Linked DNA regions of Homo sapiens: region 1 is linked to region 2. The links are contacts of gene promoters, found by promoter capture Hi-C in blood cells and fetal thymus (Javierre and others, 2016). All regions are on one chromosome and are shown on one strand. The core of a region is centred on a gene start or on the middle of the fragment in contact, and the rest is flanking DNA. Distances in the headings are between cores, read along the strand shown.

Region 1 (6,538 bases), core at 3,062-5,561, 150 kb after region 2:
GTATGATTTTACTCACATTGAATGGAAAAAAACTAAACAATTTTATTAATAAAATTTTATTAATTTTGTTTTAAATAATTTTAGGTTTTGTTTTAAGCAATAAAACTTAAACAATAACAATAAAAATTATAAAATATTTTAAATACATTATTTTATTTCAGCCTCGTAACAACCCTATTATATTCCAGGTGTCATTCTCCTTTGAAAGATGAAGAAATTGTGGGCCATAAAGGTTAATTGACCTATCCAGGGTCACAAAGATTGAGGTAGATTGAGGACTGGAACTATTTTTTTTTAACTCTACATTCACTCATTTTTTTATATTGTGCTATAAATTTTATTGATAATATTTTAGATGCAATAGAATGCTACACAGTGTAGGTTCATGTTTGTCATATTAGAAATAACCTCATACTCAGCAATTTCTTTCCAAATTGTATGGCTCCTTTGTTAAACTCTCTTCATTTACATTGGCATGTTCATTTTGAGGGTCTGCTGGAGAAGGCGAATTGTTTTGTTTGATTTATTCAGCCAGGTAACAAAGTTTTATTTATTTATTTATTTTGAGATGGAGTTTTGCTCTCGCTCAGGCTGAAGTGCAATGTGCAATCTCAGCTCACTGCAACCTCCACCTTCTGGGTTCAAGTGATTGTACTGCCTCAGCCTCCCCAGTAGCTGGGATTACAGGCACCCACCACCACACCTGGCTAATTTTTGTATTTTTAGTAGAGACAGGATTTCACCATGTTGGCCAGACTGGTCTTGAACTGCTGACTTCAGGTGATCTGCCCGCCTCAGCCTCCCAAAGTGCTGGGATTACAGGCGTGAGCCACCACACCCAGCCCCCAAGTTAACAAAGTTTTGGAAGAAGGAATGATACCACTCATCTTAGAGCTAGAAATATGTATTGCAAAAACTGTTTAATTTAGACACTTTGCAGATTAAGCTAAGGAATTCGCTTTCTCAAAAGAAAAAGGGATTATCTTTCTTGTGTTTTTCACTGACTTAACAGTAATATATACTTTAATTCAAACAACACAAGAATATATACAGTATTATGTAAAAATACCCTGTAATAAAAAACAATAGTTTTAAATCCCTTATGCTTTTGTTTTTTGAAAAATGTATGGTGCGTGTATGTTAGGATATATGTATATGTATACATAAATACATACATTTCTAAGTTTGTATTGTCAGTTAATGGTTGGAATAATTGGTTAACCATTTGAGGATAAAATGAAAAGAACAATACTTACGGTTTCATAGTGTTGGAGAAACAGACTTTTTCATAAGTGGTATTGTAAATTAGTATAATATTTGTATGTAACAATTTGGCAATATCTATCAAAGTCAAATTGTTCTTTGAGCGTGCAATTTCTTTTCTTTTCTTTTCTTTTTTTTTTTTAGATGGAGTCTCACTCTGTCACCCAGGCTGGAGTGCAGTAGTGCAATTCTACCCACTGCAGCCTCTGTCTCCTGGGTTCAAGCAATTCTCCTGCTTCAGCCTCCCAAGTAGCAGGGATTACAAGCATGTGCCACCACACCTAATTTTTGTATTTTTAGTAGAGATGGGGTTTCATCCTGTTGGCCATAAGAGCAGCATGGAGATGACTTGGGCAGGATAAGCAGAGGGAATATTGGAAGGTTTTCAGGAGTGTCTGAACTTCTGACACATTTTGATTGCATCTTTGAGTTTTGTGACCTTTTCCAACATACATGAAGGCTTGTAGAGTCATGAAATTTTAATGCTTACCAAGGACCTTCAATTATCTGTTCAATTCTCTAAGTTGTCTTAGAGCAATAATGAGCCCAGGGGAATTAAAGAGACATAGTGTTAGTGACAGAGGTAGAAGTAGGACTTAAGTCACCCGGTTGCTAGTGTTTTAACCAAAACTGTCAACCAGTTAACCTAGATTAAAACACTAGCAACCAGGTAACCTACATCAGTATTCACTCCACAGTACTGCAATGGGTAATCATTCGAGATGTTTGAGAAAAACAGAGCGGATGGAGTCAGTTGTGAGGGTGGAAGCGGGGAAGGAAGAAGGTTGGAGCTTTTAAGGGCTCAAATTAGAATTGGAGGAAAAAGGAGTCAGTAAGGTAATAATCACTAAAGCAAATCTGAAAGGTTTTATCCTTCTTTACTGAATTTTTTTCCCTTTAAAACACTTTCATTGAATTTTTACTTTTTTTTTTAACAGATAAAGATATAGAGAGAATAAATCCCTTGAAAATATTTTAAATGTTTTACTGCAACATATGTTAAAAAAATTAGAGGATTAACAGTTGGTTAATGGGCTTATTTTCTTTCATATCACTTATTGTTCTTTTTTCTTCTTTTCCAGAATTTTATAGAAGTGAAGTGATTAAGAATTCCTTGGTAAGTTTGCTTTCTGACGGGTACATATGACTAAGTATATACACCTGTTTTCAGAAAATGCAGAAATGTAAAATAAGTTGAGGTTCAGCTCTGGTTTTATGATACTTTAACGGATCTGCTCAATTGTTAAATCATCATTGTTTTGTTCATTGCTGTATCTCTAGTGCTTATGTAGTAGGTGCTTGATAAATATTTACTGAATGAAATGACAAGTTAATGGGTGTAGCACACCGACATGGCACATGTATACGTATGTAACAAACTGGCACGTTGTGTACATGTACCCTAAAACTTACAGTATAATAATAATAAAATAAAAAAAGAAAAAAATATTTACTGAATGAACTGATTTTTCTGTTAAGAACTTTAAATGATAAAAACTCAAATTCTATAGTTTTCTCACTTCCATTTCCTATAAATAAGTTTCTGATTATTTCACTCGCCATATGTCATAATAAATGATATCTTTGTTCAGATATAGTTCTTAAGAATTTTATGCCTCGGGCTTTTGTATAGGATACTCCTACTTGTTTCTTGGCAGTGGCATTGCTCAGTTGGAAAGTTGTAAATATCCTACTTTTGATAATGTATACACTGGATATTTGCATAAATGGCTCAATTTATTAGGCTGTGTTGAAAACAAAGAAGACCTTTCTGGTAATGAAAATATCTTAGTAATGGTCCAGTACCATCTTGGATTTGGCCCTTGTCTGCTTTTCCACCTCATCTCCTCCTCTTTTCCGCACTCATTGTGTTCCAGGTGTACCTCTTTCAGTGCTTCAAACACACAAAGCTTATCTTGTTCCTTATGTCTAGAACACTTGTTTCCTCAGCTGTTCGCTTGACTGAAGAGGTCTTCAAGGTCTCAGCTATGTCACTTCAGCAAGACCTTCTATGGCTATCTCATCTAGAGCAGTTCTCTTTCCCCAGTCATGCTTTTTCATGACCCTGTTTTATTTTCTTTAAAGTGTTCATCACTGTTGGAAACTCTTGCTTGCTTACTTGTTTGTGTTTATGAACTGCCTCCCACCTGCTAGAACATAAGTTCCATGAAAGCACGGGCCCTGCCAATCTCGCTGCTCCTGTTACCCTGGAGTCTAGAATAGTATAGATGCTCAGTAACTACTTGTTAAATGAATAAAGGGTTATCAATGATGTGTTGTATTTACATGTTATCCCATTTTGATCCTTAGAACAACCTGTAAAGTAGATGGGGCAGATCTTAGGAAGCTGGTACCCAGAGAGTTCCAACAACTTTTGCAGAGTCAGAGGACTGCAGGACCAGAACCCCAATCTAGACCTTCTGTCTTTGTCTCTACTCTTTCCTCTTCATCAAGCTGTCTTTGAAATGTCTCTAAAATATCAATAGATTTGGATTCTAGGCCAGACAGTTCCTTGAGTCCATCTCTGGGGAGGTCCCATCACCAGTAAAGCTCTGGTTCTACGTATATTATATGATATAAAATAAGTGCCTAGCATCATGCTTGATGTATAATAGTTACTGAGTAAATATTAGTTTTTCCTCCTCTCCTTGCTCAGGTGGAAACAGAAATAGTTTGCAGACAGTTAAGAGCTAGGAGTGATTATGGGGAAGATAGAACAGAATTTTGTGTTCATTTATTCTGTTCTCTTTTCCATAGTCAAATGTTGGGGATGGTTTTTTAATATCCATTGCTTTTCCCCCAGATTTGTGTTATAATAGACCCTATGTCATAATAATAGACCCTATGTCATAATGGCACTTTAGTGTATTGTTCTGCATTATTAGTATTGGATTTATTAGATCTTCCCTTGGCTCCCAAATCCATATTTCTAAAGATCTCTGAATGTTAACTCCTATCTTCAACTCCTTTTGGCCTCCATCTTCAATTGCTTTGGAGCTATCTGTGAGGTCATGATACCTTCATCCTTTGTGCACTTAGGTGGAATATTGTCTCCAAAGAATACTGTAGAATGGATTCAAGACAAGGGGGAGGATTGGACTAAAACACTTGTAGGTCCCTTTCAACTCACAGTTTATACTATAATTGTTTTCCGAATGTACCTCATACAGTGTTTGCTTGCATTGTGATTTCATGGACATTCTGTTTCACAAAGTAGATCAAATCTCCTGGAGGTCACAGACTGTATGTCTTTATATCCCCTTAGTTCCTAGTGTATTTCTATTGGGTAGTTGTTTGACAAATATTAATTTTTTGATGTTCCTTTTAAAGGTATTCTTTGAGATTTTGGCAAGGATTCTTTTTTTTTCTTTTATATCTTAATAAAGGTTCTATTAACTTTTTTTTTTTTTTTGAGACAGGGTCTCTCTATCACCCAGGCTGGAGTGCAGTAGCATGATCTCAGCTCACTGCAACCTCCACCTTGTGAGCTGAGGCGATCCTCTTACCTCAGCCTCCCAAGGAGCTGGGACTACAGGCATGAACCACCATGCCTGACTAATTTTTGTATTTTTTGTAGAGACAGGGTTTCACCATGTTACCCAGGCTGGCCTGGAACTCCTGACCTCAAGCAATCCGCCTAACTCAGCCTCCCAAAGTGCTGGGATTACAGGCATGAGCCACTGTGCCCAGCCTAATTAACTCTTTCTTTCTGAGGGAGCTCTTTTTTCTTAGCTTTTTGCTAATTCATTGTGATTGGTTCAGATTGATGGGCATTGGGCAGTACAGGAGTCAACAACCCTCAGAGAATATGCCAGAGATGGCACGTTGTTACTGCCCTTCTTGCTGCCTCTGAAGAAGCACTGCCAGGTCAACAGCAGAATTGGTTGGTTTCTTTCCTGTTTAGGATTTTGCGATTTTTAAGCTATTGTGATATTTGCTGAATAGTTAGTCGTTTAAATGCTTTTGTATTTATTTGTTACCATTGTGCTTGGCACACAGAAGACGCTCAGCAAATGTTTCTTGAATAAATGAATTCTTCCCTAAGGATATTTATTAACTTCGAAGTTATATCCTGAAACTGCAAATCTTCAATTAGATACTAAAGGATTAGGCAAAGATTTGAATACTTTATTTCTAATTAAGGCTTTGAGTAAATTTTCACTCTGGTGAACTAAGTTGGACTTTGATAAGCTTGTAAGTATCTTTTTCACTCATGTAACTTTGAGATACAGAATGTTGTTCCTTGTTTATATTCTGAGCTTGGTTCTTAGACCAGAGTGGCTTGGTTTCATCACTCTGACGTCAAAGGAGACATGGAAAAATGGACTCAAGATTAAAAAGAGGCCGAGTGTGGTGGCCTACGCCTGTAATCCCAGCACTTTGGGAGGCTGAGGCGGGCGGATCATCTGAGGTCAGAAGTTTGAGACCAGCCTGACCAACATGGAGAATCCCCATCTCTACTAAAAATATAAAATTAGCTGGGCGTGGTGGCACATGCCTGTAATCTCAGCTACTCGGGAGGCTGAGGCAGGAGAATTGCTTGAACCTGAGAGGCGGAGGTTGCGGTGAGCCGAGATCGTGCTGTTGCACTCCAGCCTGGGCAACAAGAGTGAAACTCCATCTCAAAAAAAAAAAAAAAAAAAAAAGATAAAAAAGAGTGTTTTCCCCCAAATATTAGATAAACTGTTCTTATGCCCTTATTCTGTGCTTCTTTCTAACTCTTGAATACTCCAGATCACCTGTCCAATAAAACTTTCTGCAATGATGGTAATGTTCTACGTATTGTTCAGTACAGTTGCCACTGGCCACATGTGGCCATTGAGCACTTGAAATGTGGTTCAGTCCTACTGCAGAACTGAATTTTAAATTTTGTTTAATTTTAATTTAAATAGCCACATGAGGCTAGTAGATATCATATTAGACAGCACAGTTCTAGATGCTTCTGAAAAGCTTTCTTTTTTTTTTTTTGAGATGTTGTCTTGCTCTTGTCGCCCAGGCTGGGGTGCAGTGGCACGATCTCGGCTCATTTTAACCTCCGCCTCCCGGGTTCAAATGATTCTCTTGCTTCAGCCTCCTGAGTAGCTGGGACTACAGGTGCCCGCCAGCATGCCCGGCTAATTTTTGTATTTTTAGTAGAGACAGGATTTCGCCATGTTGGCCAGGCTGGTGTTGAACTCCTGATCTCCGGTGATCTGCCCACCTCAGCTTCCCAAAGTGCTGGGATTACAGGCGTGAGCCACCACGCCTGGCCAGGGCTTATAATCATTAACAGGAA
Region 2 (6,028 bases), core at 1,013-3,512:
AAAATTAGTGATAAGAAAATGAAAATCAAGAGTAAAATTTGGTCTCATTTCATACCCTAGCAAGACAAGAAGAAGTCTGACCATACCAAGGGTCAGAGCAGATCCATGGGGGTGGGGGTGGGGTCTCTCGATTCTTGGGGAGACTATACCTTGATGTATTATTTTGGAAAACAGTTTGGCTCTACTCCCAAACTTGAACATTCACATATTCATAAACCCAGCAGTTTCTCCTGCTGTGTTGAAATTGTGGAGAGGAGAATGAGGATAGAAAGTAAACGGAGAGGCCAATAAGGAAGACAGAGCCAGTCTATAAAAGAGGCTGGCTGTGGAGGTAGACAGCAGCTGTTCAGTTCAAGAGACTGAAATCAACAAAACACTAGAACAAGAAGGTCATAGAAAATGATATCCAAATGGTCAGTAAGCATATTAAAATGTGCTTATATTTATTAGTTGTTAGGAAAATGCTATAACCACAATGAAGGACCACTACACACCCACCAAAATTCAGAACTCGGAATTCTTATATAAGGCTATGGGAGTGTAGATTTGTACAACCACTTTGGAAAACTCTATGGCTATCTACCATGAGACCCATCAATTCTATTTCCAGGCACATACCCAACAGAAATGTGTATAGATGTGTACTGAAAGACATGTACAGGAATGTTCGTAGCAGCAATATTCATAATAGCCAGAAACAGGTGACAGCCCAAATGCCTGTCAGCGTCCAAATGGACACTTTGTGGCATATTCACACAATGGAATGCTATACAGCAATGAAAACAAAGGCAATACAGGCACATATGATGTCTCAAAAGAGTATACACTAAATGATTCAGTTTTCATAAAGTTCAAGAACAGAGATGAGGATGGTGCTGAGCTACAGGGAGGAGAGCAGTGACTGGCAAGGCCAGAAGGGGTGCTAGGTAAGTTCTGTTTGTCGATCAGAGTGGTGATAACTTTCACTTTGTGAAAAGACATTTCTCTGTCCGCTTAGGATTTGTGCATTTTTCCGTATGTATGGTATACGTCAATTTGAAGTTGACATTTAAAAGGAGGGACTTAGAAGAACTGATAGGACATGGTGACTGGTAGAGGTGGATGGAGAAGAACAGAAGGGATCTAGTGTGACTCAGGTTTTGGCCTGAGCAACTGGGTAAATGGCATTACCCTTTACTGAGATGGGAAAGAGCAGAGGAGGAGTCAGTGGGGCAGAAGGGAGGTGGGGGAGGGAATCAAGTTCACCTTTAGACATGCTACGATGGAGGTGCCTATCAGGCATTCAAGTGAAGATGTCAAGGAGCCACCTAGAGATTCAAGTTTAGAGCCCCAGGGAGCAGAGCTGCAGATGCAGATTTGGAAGTCTTTGCTGTGTAAATACAATGCAAGGTGTGAGCCTGGATGAGATCTCAGAGAGCAGAAACTGGAGAGAAAAGAGAAGTCCCGAGGATGGAGTGGAGGAGGGGGACTCGAACAGCTGGCCTGGTGAAAGACGAGAGGCACAAAGGGAGCAGCCAGAGAGCTAGGAAGAAAACTGGGAGAGCATAGTGTCCAAAGGCCAAGTGGTTTCAAAGAAACGGGAATGATCAACCATATCTAATGCTGCCAATAGGTCAGGATGAGATCTGAGAATTGATTACTGGATTTAACATCATGGAGGTCACTAGGGAACTTGCCAAGGGCAGTTTTGTGGAAGGGTGATACCTGAAGTGTGGACCACCATTTGTGGTACCACAGATGGGAGGTGAGGACAGGAAGGCATGAAAGATAGCTCTTCCGAGAGTTTGCTGTGTGAGTGAGCAGAAAAATGGGGCAGGAGGTGGAGGACACAGTGTGGGTGGGGATTTTTAGGTGGGAGTTAGTACAGCATATGTGTGGAGGGGGAACAATGGACAGGACAAGGTTATCCTATCCATTGACCTTGGGGCCAGGTCATTGAATAGGTGGGAAGGGGGTGAGATTGCATATGCTTGGGGCTTCACCTGCCTAGTTATAGGAAGGACAAGATTTAAGCAATTGGGGAAAGGCAGCCATGCAGATAAGGCATTGCCTGAGAAAGTTGATAAAGGCTATACAACCCCTTCTCTTCCTCCTTCCTTAGCCAGGCTCCAGCAGGTAGATTCAAAGGTTTCTTGTAGGATAGAATTTCCTGCCTCAGCAGGGGCAAGGAGGCCTTGGGGCTGGGCTGGGCTGGGCTGGGTGTGGCACTCTCCCTGCCAGCTTCTACAACCTGGGGAGGGAACAAAAACCTGTGGGTGCCTCAGACCACAGCAGAGCTCACAGAACCTGCGGGAGCCAGGCTGACCCGCCAGCATGGTAGAGTTCGCGCCCTTGTTTATGCCGTGGGAGCGCAGGCTGCAGACACTTGCTGTCCTACAGTTTGTCTTCTCCTTCTTGGCACTGGGTAAGTTGGGCTGCACTGTAAGACGGGAGACCACCGCACTCAGGTGGGGCAGAGCAGCCACACCAGGTGCACACAGCACATTGATGGTGGCAAGACATTTATCCTAAAGGGGGCTTTGTTGCGCTCAGAGCCCCTGCCCAGAGAGAACTCCTGGGCCTGCCCAGAGGCTTCTTGGGGGTGGAGTGGGGTAGAAGTCACCGTCTGCTGCTCTGGGCAGGTTACTTACTCTTCCTGGCTTGCACTGTGGGTTCTCCTTTGGCACTTGGATGAAGACCAGTCTGCAGGCTGCCAAGTGGTGTGGGAAAGCCTCTGGGCGATGACGGGAAAGTTCTGGGCTCTGCAGCCTGCTCAGAGAGGAGAGATTTCCTTCTGTGCGCTCAGGGAGGAGGAAACTGGGGCTGGTAGTAGGGTAAGTGAGAGAAACAGGGAAAGAAAAGAAGGGTGGGGAGAAGGTGCAGACTGAGAGTGGACTGTGGAGTGGGCATGCTGGGTACCAGGAAACCCGGAGTCAGACTCAGCTGGGCAACTGACTTTAGCCAGCCCATGCCTGACCTCTCCAAGCCTCGACTTCACCATCTGCAGAACGGGGACAACAATGCTGGCCTTGCAGGGCTATTGTGAAGGAAATGAAGAAATGTGCTGACCTCTGCTTGGCACAGACCTGGCCTGGACCCTGGGCTGGGCTCACACTGGAGGGCATGAGCATGGCCCCTTACCCACCCCACCACTGATTTGTGGCCAGAGAGATCACCCTTGCCCAAACAATAGCTCTGCCAAAGGTAACATTTTCTAGGAGGGTCTGGATCTGTGGCTTGGGAAGGGAGAATGACTAGGAGTCCGTGGGGTTTTTCCTTTCATCTGCTGGCACCAGACAAGGTAGGAACTGCTGCTTCCAGGGCTGAGGTTCAGCCTGTACACAGATACCACTCTCCTGGTTGTTAAAATATTGACACACTCTGAACACATTGCTCAGTAGCCATCTCTCTTTCTCTCTCTCTCTCTCACACACACACACACACACACGTACTTCCTCAGAAACTCCCCCACAATTCTGTAGTGAAAAAACTCCCCCTTGGCAAAGCAGGCCCTCCAGGACCCTGCCCTAGCATCCCTTCTGGTTGAGCTGTGTCTCTGTTCTAAGGGTTTTTAGACATTTTACACATTCCTGTATACCCCCTTTGCACAGATGAGCCAAACAATCAAGGATTTGCCTCCAGTAAGGGCTGAGAAACCATCAGTCAGAGGGGAATTCCACACTAGGCCTGGTCTTAGCCCTGATGCACCCCTGATTATGGGGCGGCCAGGGGCTGGCCTCTTCCTCCCTCCCTCCTTTCAACAACAAACGTCACTGGTCACTGAAGGCAAAGGAATCAGAGCTCAGCAGGTTTGGGAACACTGTGTAGTTCAGAGTGGCCACAGACAAGAGGCAGGAGCGGGAGGGACAGGGCCAGCTCTGGGGCTCCTGGAGGCCAGGCTGAGCTACTTGGACTGTGCCCAAAGTTATGGGGAAGTCATGAAGGGCTTGAATAAGGGGAGGCACCTGGCTGGATTTATCTCTGGGAAAATGGGGCAGAGGATGAACAGAAAGAGAGCAGGAAAGGGTCTCCCTTTGCTCTGAGATCCCAAAAGATGGAAACTAGAACAGTTTATCCAACCAGTTGTCCCCATTGATTGAGCACTTAATGAGTACAAACAACTCTCCTGGGGAGAAGGAGGACAGGCAGGGGATGGAGTGAATTAGGCGGCCTGGTGCAGTGGGAGAAAGTGAGCTTTGGAGTTAGGCCTACCTAGGCTCAACGCGTGCTCCCAGTGACACTGGGCTGGCCGTAGTCCCTCTCAGGGACTTTGTCTCCTCTTTGAATGCCCCGGAAGCTGCTGTCTTCCTCCTGGGCCCGAGGATTGGACAGGACAGTGCTGCTAGTGCCAGGCCTATGGGCAGAGTTCAGTCTGAGCAATCTCACCTGCCTTCCTCTCAGACCCCTGTCCCTGACAGCTCCTTCTTCCCTCCCCAGCCGAGATCTGCACTGTGGGCTTCATAGCCCTCCTGTTTACAAGATTCTGGCTCCTCACTGTCCTGTATGCGGCCTGGTGGTATCTGGACCGAGACAAGCCACGGCAGGGGGGCCGGCACATCCAGGCCATCAGGTGCTGGACTATATGGAAGTACATGAAGGACTATTTCCCCATCTCGGTGAGTATTGAGGCTGGTTGGGGTTGGGGAGGGAGTTGGCTGGGGTGTGGTCAGGGCCAGAGTGCCGACGTCTCCATGGGAGAATATGGCCCTGCATGCACTGAGGAGGGTACTGGGCTGGGAGGCAGGAGCTAGGGCTTCCGCTACTATGTGACCTAGAGAAGAGTCCAGCTTCTCTCCGATCATGGTTTCGCATCTGCAGGGATGCGGGGCCAATATGTGGATTGATGGATGTCCAGCATTTGAAGGAGTTCTGTGGGTTATATGGTGTGAGGCATGCCTATGTATCTTAAAGGCACAAACCCATCAGCAGCCCAGGCTTGGGAGTGAAGGTAATAAACTTACAGGTTCTAAGGACCATCTAGCCTCACACTTAACATTCATCAGAAGAGGAGGCTGACACCCAGAGATGGAGGAAATGTCACCAAGGTCACACAGCAAGTTCTTTTACAGATTTCCAAGTGTGTACACTGACTGTGGGCAAAGGGACAGAGGAGAGAGCCCTGAATTGTTCTCAGATCCTACCCTGACCCTAACTCTGGCATGTGGTATATCTTTGGGCAAAGCTTTATCCTGTTCTGAGGCTCAGTCTCCCCATGTATCTAGTAAGTACACTGATTCCTCCTCCTCTGCATGCCTTCAAATCTCTGGCTTTCCGACTCCTGTCACCTCGTGGTCATTGTGGACGCTGGGCCCTGGACTTGAAGTTGTGTCCAGAGCAGAGCAGATCCCTGGATTTGAGTGAGCAGATCTTTCGGCTCCTTCAACGGAATCCCAGGCAATTTAAAGCCTTGATCTATGCAGCCAGGCAGTGATGGTTTATTGGCCAGAAGGGATAGGATGGGGAAGGCAGTGGGGACGCAGAGAAGGGACAGGCAGGGGCAGTTGGCCCTCCTCTGGAAGCAGGAGAGAAGAAAGGGGTAAGATATGGCCCGTGGAGACAGGCAGACTAGATTCTGATCCCAAGTCTGCCCCATACCATATCAGCTGTATGATCGTAGGTAAGTTGGTCTCTCTGAGCCTCAGTTTCCTCATATGTAAAATGGGGATAATGACACATACCTCACTGGGTTGTGTAGATTCAATGAGACAAAGCAAGTAAAGCACTTTGTAGGTTTTCTTTTTTTTTTGAGATGGAGTCTCGCTCTGTCACCCAGGCTGGAGTGCAATGGCACGATCTCAGCTCATTGCAACCTCCACCTCCCAGGTTCAAGCAATTCTCCTACCTCAGCCTCCCGTGTAGCTGGGGCTACAGGTGCCGGCCACCACACCTGGCTAATTTTTGTATTTTTAGTAGAGACGGGGTTTCTCCATGTTGGTCAGGCTGGTCTCGAACTCCCGACCTTAGGTGATCTGCCCACCTTAGCCTCCCAAAGTGCTGGGATTACAGGTGTGAGCCACTGTGCCTGGCTAGCACTTTGTAGGTTTTCAGT

What was found. The method cuts DNA at HindIII sites, captures the fragments that hold promoters and counts their contacts. A CHiCAGO score of 5 or more calls a contact.
Region 1: a fragment that was not itself captured here is called in contact with the fragment with the promoter of MOGAT2 in region 2 in 7 of 17 cell types (neutrophils, M2 macrophages, M0 macrophages and 4 more); the score reaches 16.7 in neutrophils.

Annotation. Positions count from the first base shown.
Region 1 is chr11:75,859,401-75,865,938 of GRCh38, forward strand. UVRAG (UV radiation resistance associated) reads left to right here. Exons shown (of 15, transcript NM_003369.4): 3 at 2,346-2,380. Among named protein-coding and RNA genes, the nearest start is that of UVRAG, 47 kb to the left of the region's middle. The HindIII fragment of the contact is 2,281 bases long and covers 3,172-5,452 here.
Region 2 is chr11:75,715,576-75,721,603 of GRCh38, forward strand. It overlaps MOGAT2 (monoacylglycerol O-acyltransferase 2), which reads left to right and starts at 2,263. Exons shown (of 6, transcript NM_025098.4): 1 at 2,263-2,404; 2 at 4,417-4,595. The coding sequence starts at 2,314. LOC105369392 (a long non-coding RNA gene) reads right to left here and starts at 2,710. Exons shown (of 3, transcript XR_950316.4): 1 at 2,631-2,710. The HindIII fragment of the contact is 5,505 bases long and covers 1-5,159 here.